3 separate regions of the Homo sapiens genome follow, and regions 1 and 2 are each linked to region 3. The links are contacts of gene promoters, found by promoter capture Hi-C in blood cells and fetal thymus (Javierre and others, 2016). All regions are on one chromosome and are shown on one strand. Each heading gives the region's core, a stretch centred on a gene start or on the middle of the fragment in contact. The rest is flanking DNA. Distances are from core to core; before and after follow the strand shown. Region 1 overlaps PCMTD1-DT (PCMTD1 divergent transcript). Region 2 has its middle 8.1 kb from the start of RB1CC1. Region 3 holds the start of TMEM68 (transmembrane protein 68).

What was found. The method cuts DNA at HindIII sites, captures the fragments that hold promoters and counts their contacts. A CHiCAGO score of 5 or more calls a contact.
Region 1: a fragment that was not itself captured here is called in contact with the fragment with the promoter of TMEM68 in region 3 in 2 of 17 cell types (total CD4 T cells and naive CD4 T cells); the score reaches 7.9 in total CD4 T cells.
Region 2: a contact is called between a fragment that was not itself captured here and the fragment with the promoter of TMEM68 in region 3, in 2 of 17 cell types (non-activated CD4 T cells and naive CD4 T cells). The highest score is 8.4, in non-activated CD4 T cells.

What each region holds. Positions count from the first base shown.
Region 1 is chr8:51,900,660-51,903,903 of GRCh38, forward strand. The region is part of intron 1 of PCMTD1-DT (PCMTD1 divergent transcript); the gene reads left to right. Among named protein-coding and RNA genes, the nearest start is that of PCMTD1-DT, 3.0 kb to the left of the region's middle. The HindIII fragment of the contact is 2,805 bases long and covers 1-2,692 here.
Region 2 is chr8:52,720,916-52,724,163 of GRCh38, forward strand. No RefSeq gene overlaps it. Among named protein-coding and RNA genes, the nearest start is that of RB1CC1, 8.1 kb to the left of the region's middle. The HindIII fragment of the contact is 374 bases long and covers 1,690-2,063 here.
Region 3 is chr8:55,771,306-55,774,664 of GRCh38, forward strand. It overlaps TMEM68 (transmembrane protein 68), which reads right to left and starts at 2,073. Exons shown (of 8, transcript NM_001286657.2): 1 at 1,964-2,073. It overlaps TGS1 (trimethylguanosine synthase 1), which reads left to right and starts at 2,141. Exons shown (of 13, transcript NM_024831.8): 1 at 2,141-2,414. The coding sequence starts at 2,314. RefSeq lists enhancers at 975-1,478, 2,250-2,579 and silencers at 1,700-1,829, 1,920-2,109. The HindIII fragment of the contact is 10,724 bases long and covers 621-3,359 here.

The DNA of each region.
Region 1 (3,244 bases), core at 40-2,539, 3.9 Mb before region 3:
AGTGGACATTGAGCTCCGAACTGTTCAAAATCTCTATTCATCTGCATTCTGGAGTAGAGCTGCGGGTCACATTATTAGCTCCATCTTTGGATTTCTGCCTGGACCCAGGGCACTCCTAACCGTTGTGGGATCATATAACAATCTTACAGGATGAATTTTCTGTTAGTCCAAGCAGAAATTTTGGCACATGAAAACTATCTTACCATAAACAAACAAAAAAAGTACAAATGGTAATCTAAGGAAAATAGCTAAAATCATTAAACAACTCTTACAGCCGTTTCCCCTGTTTTCTCTCCATTTTTTAAAAGCATATTTTCCTTTACTTTCTTCCTTCTGCTATGGGAATTTTTCAGGGTTCTAGACCTTTTTTCTCTTCTGCGGCTGGAAAGTTAAACACAGGTCATTTTTTAAATAAGACTGCTAGTAAATACCTTCTTAATAAACAACACCAAATGCTAGTCTTGTGGGTGAGTAGTTGAACAGCAAGTAAAGCACTCTATCACCTGTAATTTTCCTGTGGTAGGCACACCCCATCTCTACCTTCACGTAATTTCTGATTATGCCTCCATACCTTACACATATAATTCATTTGTGGGTGGGGGCGACAGAGTCTTTTGCTCTTTTGCCCAGGCTGGAGTGCAGTGGCAACCTCTGCTCACTGCAACCTCCACCTCCCGGCTTCAAGCAGTTCTGCCTCAGCCTCCCAAGTAGCTAGGATCACAGGAGCGCACCACCACCCCCTGCTAATTTTTGTATTTTTAGTAGAGATGGGGTTTCCCCTGTTGGCTAGGCTGGCCTCAAACTCCGATCTCAAGTGATCCACCCGCCTCGGCCTCCCAAAGTGTTGGGATTACAGGCATGAGCCACCACGTCTGGCTATAATTCACTTCTTGTGTGTGACTTCCTACTAATTTGTAATCATGAAAGTTGGGCACATACCCAGTATGCTCACTATTTCTCTGCAGGGCCTGATACAGTGGCTGCTACAACACTGATACTCTGCATTTGTTGAATGAGTAATTTAAATTTTAAATTATCATCTAGAATCATTTAGAGATTTATTTAGACTTTGATAAATTTAGATAACCCACACACAGTTTATTCCTAGAGTTCTTGATACATTGTTACAGTAAGTTTGGTCCTGGCAACAGCAATAACACTTACTGTAATAACTTAATTCTTCATACGAGGTTGCTTCACTTTTATTATTAAGCAGAAAATACCCAAAGTAAAATTGAGCTATTTGGGACTCCTTTCAGAATACTGTGTAGGCTGAAGCATTGTTGTATCAGAAGTGCTCTGTTATTTGAATGCATAAGGTATTCAACAAACAAATGCTTATTAAATTAAATGGTATTCAGCATACAGCTACTGTCACCGTGCTAGGAGTTCACATTTTTCATATGCGTGGCAGTTAGCACTGGTGCATGTTTCCTTCAGCCTCAGAAATGGAGGTGTCTGCGTGTTGCCCAGATCTACCTTGAAAACTCTAGTTGCTTCCTAACACCTAGGTTGTATAGTGGGACTTGATTATGTTTTATAAAGCCAAGTCTGGTCTGTGAGGACTGAAAGGATTTCCTCATCTTAACTCTAATTTGGCCTGCAATGTCTGGGGAAAACCCAAAACTAAAATGTAACTAAATGTGGAACTGTTTTTTTCTGCAGTTTGATTTCCTTGTACCATTTTCAGTACAGTTAAATTCATCACCTCCCCTACCTCACCATCCCCCTCCCCCTGCAAAAAAAAAAAAAGCAAAAACAGAAGTATTTTCTCTCTTAAAGAGAATTGTCATTGGCCAGGCACAGTGGCTCACGACTATAGTCCCAGCCCTATAGGAAGCAGAGGTGGGAGAATCATTTGAGCTCAGAAGTTGCAAGATTTCAAGATCAGCCTGAGCAACATAGTGAGACCTCATCTCTGCAAAAAATTTAAAAATTACCTGAGTGTGGTGATGCATGCCTGTAGTCCCAGCTATTCCAGAAGCTGAGATGGGAGGATTACTTGAGCCCAGGAGTTAGTTTCTAATTGGATGTAGTCTGCACAGGCAGATTTCATTTTCAGTATTAAAAAGGTCAGTAATTTCTGAAATATTCACTTGACAATTAATAGGATTAAATGACTTTGGGAAAGCATAATTTTATTTTAAATTGCACATATAATCCCTCAATTACATAGATTTTAATGCTAGGATAATCTTCCAATAAAAGGAAATATAAGTTATCAAAAAATGAATTTCTTTTAGAAAAATAAGCATTTATAATTTATTGTCTACAGTAAACAAAAAGTGACTTTAACTCACAAGTTAAAATTACTCTTATATGGTGCTTAATCTATATAAATATCTTTCCTTTATTAAAAATTCTGCTTCTTAAAAAACAGAATCATGGAGTGGAGAAAAAGGAAAACTTCTGCTTGTAAACTTAAGTGCATCAAAACTGTGGATAAACATCTTTTTAATGTATATGTAAAATTTAATATTTTTTAAAGAATCTATTAAAGTTCAATAAACATTTTCTGACACTATGATAGATGCTGAGGATATTGCAATAATATATGATATAGCTTCTGTCTTAATAAACTTACATTCAAATAATAGAAGGAGGAAAGTGACCCTTGACATAATAGTAAGGGTACAAATAAAATACTCTTGCTCCATAGTAGTGTTCCATGGCAGAAGTCAAATTTGAATCAAGCTTTGAAATTTGAATAGAATTTTTGAATTATGGAGATAAAGAGAATAGCTATTTTAGGAACATGGAATATAAAAGAATAACGCTTACATAGATCATTTGTTTTCAAAGAGCAGAGATTAATCTGATTTAGCTAGAACATAGAATGCAAAAAGGATAATGGGAGCTAAGCCTAGAAAGATAGACTGCAGCCAGATTTTGGTGGTCATTAGATTGGATGCAACAGCCAGCAAGGAGCCAAAACTTAAGTGTTCACTTTTATGTAAATGTAGCTGACGCAAGTACCTTGTATTAGAACTAAAAATTATGCTGTATATAACTATTACTGTAGTTAGGTGAAACCATTTCAGAGTCTGCTTTAGTGATTCATAGTGTAAATGAAGTTACTGTGTTTATGTGTGTGTGTGTGTGCACATTATATGTATGTATGTGTGTTTTTAAGTATGACATTTGAATTCTGAAATGAAGATGAAAAAGGCTTTGGTCAGTAAACCTGTCTTTCTTGGTCAGATACTGAACCACAGTAGTAAGTCCAGGCACTGAAATGATAATT
Region 2 (3,248 bases), core at 627-3,126, 3.1 Mb before region 3:
ATATCCTATGCATAGCCTATGCTCCCCCTTAATTTGGTGCTGGTCCTGCAGGGGTTAAAAAAAATTGGCTCAGCAAGGTGGCTCCCAGCTTACACCAGTAATCCCAGCACTTGGGGAGGCCAAGGCAGGTGGATAGCCCTGAGTTCAGAAGTTCTAGACCTGCCTGGACAATGTGGCAAAACCCCATCTCTACCAAGAATACAAAAAAAAAAAAAAATTAGCCAGGCATGTGGTGGCATACGCCTGTAGTTCCAGCCACTTGGGAAGCTGAGGTGGGAAGATTGCTTGAGCCTGGGAGGCAGAGGTTGCAGTGAGCTAAGATTGCACTGCTGCATTCCAGCCTGGGCAACAGGGTGAGACCCTGTCTCAAAAACAAAAAAAGAAAAAATGTCTAGCAATAGGTTACAGAGTTTCTCAATCTCATACCTACCAGTTAATTCTTTGTTATAAGGGGCTGTCCTGTACATTTTAGGATGTTGAACCTCCTTGGCTTCTGCCCACTAGATGCCAGTAGCACCCCAGTTATGACAATCAAAAATGCCTCTGGACATTTTGTAATGTTCCCAGAGGGACAAAATCAACCCCTTTCTCAGAATTCAGGGAAAACGTGGTACATCTATATAATGAAATACTATGCAGCCATTAATATTATATTTTAGAAGAATATTTAAAACAGGCCTGGCATGGTGGCTCACACCTGTAATCTCAGCACTCTGGTAGGCTGAGGTAGGAGAATCACTTGAGGCCAGGAGTTTGAGACCAGCTTGGACAACATAGCGAAACCCTGTCTCTACAAAAATAAAAGTAAAAATATAGACCAGGCGCGGTGGCTCACGCCTGTAATCCCAGCACTTTGGGAGGCCGAGGCGGGTGGATCACGAGGTCAGGAGATCGAGACCATCCTGGCTAACATGGTGAAACCCTGTCTCTACTAAAAGTACAAAAATAAGTTAGCCGGGCGTGCTCGGGAGGCTGAGGCAGGAGGATGGCGTGAACCTAGGAGGCGGAGCTTGCAGTGAGCCGAGATCGCACCACTGCACTCCAGCCTGGGCGACAGAGAGAATAAAAAAAATAAAAATAAAAATAAAATAAAAATATAGCTCTGTGTGGTGGTGCACTCCTCTAGTCTCAGCTACTTGGGAGGCTGAGGTGGGAGGATTGCTCGAGCCAAGGAGTTTAAAGCTACAGTGAACCATGACCACACCACTGTACTCCATCCTGGGCAACAAAGTGAGACCCTATTCTAAAAAAATTGTAAAAATATGTATATTAATTTTTTTTTTGTTTTGAGATAGGGTCTCACTCTCTCACCCAGGCTGTAATGCATTGGCACACCCACGGCTTGTTGCAGCCTCAACCTCCCAGGCTCAAGCAATCCTTCCACCTCACTGTCCCTAATAGCTGTAACTACAGATGCCCACCACCATGCCTGGCAAATTTTTGTATTTTTTGTAGAGACAGGGTTTCACCATGTTGCCCAGGCTGGTCTCAAACTCCTGGGTTCAGGCTCTCCTTTCACCTTAGCCTCCCAAAGTGTTGGGATTACAGGCGTGAACCACTCTGCCCAACCAAAAAATATTTAAAGACAAAGGAAAACAAAGTAGCAAGCTACTCTGTTTTACTATGTTTCGTATTTTAACATCTCTGAAATCTGGGTCCATTTAACAGTGGATGGATAGTGGTCCTCCAAGCTTGTCAACCAATGCCATCCATTTCCTGTGCTTACTATAAGACATCAAAAACACCAGATTGGAAAAAAATCCAAACTATAATGGTGAGAGAATTGATGAATAAGATGTGTTGTACAACATTCCCAAAGACAGCTAGGTACCTAGCACCACAGCTTTAGTTCTTTTATGGATTCTGTAAGGAAATGCTTGTTGCCAGTGCTTTCAGTGCTGCAAAGGATAAATTCTGTGGAAAAACCCAGACAATCTCTGAGTCGGAAGTAATAGTTCAAAAGTGATGAAATTTTAGAAATACCTTTACCAATGTAATTTGCTTGTATTTTCATTTTTATGTATGGGCAATATAATAAAAATGTGTCTAATGAAGTCTAAGAAAGCTTTCTAAGTAAGTACAAAATTAAATTCTAAGTGATTTTTCCTATGTGTATATTTTTCTTCATTTTCCAGACTACATATTTTTGAAAAATGTACCATTAGTCTTTTGTAACTTAAAACGAGTTCTGTTGTTTATCATATAAAATGAATGCTTTTTTCCCAATTCTCTGAAGTCCATTTATTTTAATAACACCATTTGTTTTTTTGCCTTCTTCCTCAAATGATCCCTTTGTTTTAATCAACCCTACCTGCTATCCATTCATGCAAAATACTTTTCCCAATAGTCATTCCTTTTCAGTATGATGTATTAAAAGGACCACTGAACTGAATGTCTGGAAACGTGGGTTCCAATTCTACCTCAGCCTTCTGTGTTGTTTCCCTAGTAGTTCACTCTTCCTACTCTCCATCAGATTGTCTGCACTATTCTTGAATCCCTAATTCCCACCCCTTCCCAGTTCTCTCTTTGGTAAATAATCTCACCTCCTACAACACTGAGGAAATAGAAGCCATGAGAAAAGAACTTCCTCTTCTGCCCTGAAATCTGCAAACCTATTTGCATCCACAAATTCTCTCCAACAGTCACTATTCTGTCCCTTCTATTTAAGGTAGTCGTGGGTTTTTGACTCCATCTCATTTTACCATCTCATTCTGTCATTCTGTGGAACCACTTACTAAGTACAAAATTTAGTTCATGTGTGACATACCTTACAAAACTTAAATATCTTTAAAATTGAAATTTATCCGGTTTCATTGTTTATTCATTTAAAATTAAAAATCAAGAAGTAAAACACTCTATCATCAATATGATTTAGTAGAAACAAATTATATCTTGTAGATGTTATTGAAATTCACTTATTAGTTGCTGGACAATTGTTTACATAAAATGACTTTTTAACAAAGGGTCAAAGTTAAAACTCCTAGGCAGATCTCAAAACTATCAAGTAGTATAGATTTTTTCTTTTTGGTTTTGTAATATTTGTGTGGCTTTTTTTTTTTTAACTTTTAAATTTTGACTGCCTTGATTAAAGTTTCAGTTAAAAAATTTTGCTGTCAATTTCTTTTCTAACCATTACTATTATTGTTGTTCTATTGTTACTGAAACTATAGAGGAATGGGATGTTAAAAAATTATCTACTCTGAGTGTCAAATACACTTCACCACTGGCAGGGCTCAGGGCTCTTCATT
Region 3 (3,359 bases), core at 823-3,322:
GTGTATCTATTTTAGGCTGGGCTCAGTGGCTCATGCCTATAATCCTAACACTTTGGGAGGCTGAGGCAGGCAAATCACTTGAACCCAAGAATTCAAGACCAGTCTGGGCAATATGGCAAAACCTTGTCTCTACAAAACACACACACACACACACACACACAAAATTAGGCAGGCATGGTGGCATGCCTGTAGCCCCAGCTACTCGGGGGGCTGAGGTAGGAGGATTGCTTGAGCCTGGGAGGTAGAGGTTGCTGTGAGCCGCGATCGCGCCACTACACTACAGCCTGGGTGACAGAGCAAGATCCTGTCTCAAAAAAAATAAATAAATAAATAAATAAAGTATATCTATTTTGAACACCCATTACCAGTACTTTTCCATTTTACTTTTAGTATATAAGTCACATTGAGAACATTCTGAAAATGCCAATTAAAAGATATAGTCACTGAAAAACAAGTTTTCCTGTTTCCTTTCTGCATATTTAATAATGGTTTAACAGAGATACAGCACTGTTTTACTGAATAGGACTTCTACTTCAAACCATGAATAAAGCTGCAATTTAGTATTTGTCAAGATAGCTGGTAAATCTAATCCTTTTAGCTTTAATACTTTTTTTATTTCAAGCTTTAAACTCGAGGTTCTGATACAAATTACCCTTCAAGACTTTTCTTTAATCCTAGAATGCCCAACTTCTAGCTAAAATCTTCCACTCTGTTTCATAATTACTGTTCTACCCTTATTATCGTAACCCAGCTACTCATCCCAATAATGCTGCACATCTATACTGGTATATCTGTAACCGTGCAGCACTCTTACCTTCTTGAACCAACAAAATCAGCCTATCTCCGACCTCAAAGTAGGGCAGCAGTAAGGAGGTGGGAATAAACATTTGAAAATGAATATTTCCACTAACTAGTAAATGTGGCCAAAATACTATTGAAAATACCATTCAAAATGCATGAATTTTAGCTCAGTTTTTATATAGTTCTGAAGAAGTACCAATACTATTTTGGCATTTCGTAGCACCAACCACGTCCGAAGCGCTCCAACTTTCAAGTCTGAGCTTGTCTCTGAAGAAGTTGCCCGTGCAGCCTCCATGAATACCACACACCAAATACTAACTGCTTTTTAACAGATCCAGCAACGCTGCTGTTTCCATTTTCTCCATCCTATTTATGCCCACATGAACTTTTTTCTTATTAGATAATTAGTAACTTGAAGGCAGAGACCTGTTTTACAGGCTGCAAACCCCAGGGACCGAGACAGCACTTAACGCCTACAAGGTCCAAACCGACGCCAACGATTAAGCGCACAAAGGAAAGGTGTAATATACATCATTTCGTTTAGTCCTCCCTGCAGCCTCATGTAGTAGTTACTATTAATCAACCCCATTTCACAGGTGATCAAAGGTAAGCTCAGAAAGGTGAAGTTGCCTGCCCAGGTCACAAGGTAGGACCAGGATTCCAAGCCTGATCGGTCTGGATACGAACGCTCTACCCACGCGGCTTTCCCCCTACACTCTCGGGATCACCACACACTTCCCCTTGGCTTTTACACCGGAGGCTCGACCTGGGTCCCGGAACCAGCGAAGCCACTGGGCAAGCCTAGAGGCCTCTACAGAGGCTAGAGACGCCTCGCCCCACCAGATGCATTAGGATGAAACGCGCCGAACCGAAGGTTTAGAGCGCCAGGGGAGAAGAGGGGCGGGGAGAGCAGGCTCTTTGACCCAGAGGAGGGAGGATCTCCACACCCGGCCACTCTGGCGCTGGGGCGCAACACTGAGGCCGGCGGGAAGCCGAGCCTGCCCGCGAAGAGACTGGGGATTCCGAGGCGGCTCCTGGGAGACCGGACGCGCGCGGCCTCCGCCGCTCCCAGTCCCGCCAGACCCGATGCCGGGCTGGAGAAGCGCGGGGGCCGACGCACCTCGGATAGGCGGGGGCAGGGGCAGGGGCAGCTCTCCTTTACCCTAGAGCGGCGACAGAAGCTCTTCGGGGGATCAGTGGCCAAGGGGGCGGACAGATTTGCACGGCGGATTCCTCCGAAGCAACCCGTGTGAAAGAAGCCAAGCGGCGGCTGCAGCCCGGGCCGCGATGGGGGTGACACCGCCCGTGGTCCCGCCCCTTCCCGTGGCCCCTCGGAGCCACTTCCGGCGGCAGCGTCCGGGCTAGTTCCCGGCGCGAGCGGCCGCGGGCCAGTTTCTATCTCCTCATCCAGGGCTTGCGGGCGAGGCCTGTTTTAAGTCTCCAGTAACCGAGCGGAGGCCCGGCAGGCGCGACCCGGGCTGCGTACGTCAGAGCTGCCTCCGAAGTGGTAAAATGTGCTGCGAGAAGTGGAGCCGCGTGGCGGAAATGTTTCTCTTCATTGAGGAGCGGGAGGATTGTAAGATACTGTGCCTTTGCTCCAGGGCATTTGTGGAGTAAGTAGAAAAGAGAATCTCTTCATGTTCTAGCACAGTCATTACCCAGAAATGTAGGTATTGCAAACGTGGTTGTAATTGATCCCTGAAAGCAGCCAGAACATCTGACCCTTGGGCACGGTGATGTTTAAGAAAAACAAAACCCTCAGACATGACGGAGTGGTCGCCCACTGCCATTATTTTTATGTGAAGGACTACATCTACTTGGTAGGCTGCTATGAAAAAATGTCGTAGGTGCTATATGTCATCTCATATTTGTAAATCGAGGGGACATTTAAAAATTGGGGGAAAGCGACATGTAAAATGAAATCTCTAGTAGATATGATGTCATAAAGTGAAAGTTTAAAGTTGAGTGACTTGCTTTGGTTAACGTCTTTTTTTAAACCTAAAAATCTACTTAAGCCCAAATGCACATAATTAAAACTTCAAACTAGTTGAGATAAAAGACTTAACCATATTTACATCAGTTTTTGTGATATCTTTATTTTGGGGAAATCTTTGAATCAGGTAAAAATTGCCCCACATGAAAAATAGCTAGTATGCAGGAATAATACCGCCAAGAGACTTGAATTCTAGGAATTGTTTCCTTTATATTAAATGCGTGAGTTAAACCACTTGAACCTTTTTTTCATCTCTATAACGGGTATATTTAATCTCACATGCTTATTTTGTTAGAGTTAAATCCTTGTGGAAGTGAATTTTATGTGATAGACTTTTAATATAGTTTAATATAGTAGGATTTAAGTTTGAAGGAATTCATTTTTCTCGTGTAATTTTGTGGAGTAATTTGAAAACGCAAAAAGAAGTTAAACTTGTTAAATTTAATGTAAAAAGTATTGTCGCCTTTTTAGTCAGGCATGCATGTAGTCATACAATCATTCAGAAAATGTTTTTTGTGCTCTTGTATATCAAGTATGCTGGTAGGCACTGAGGTACAAGACATTC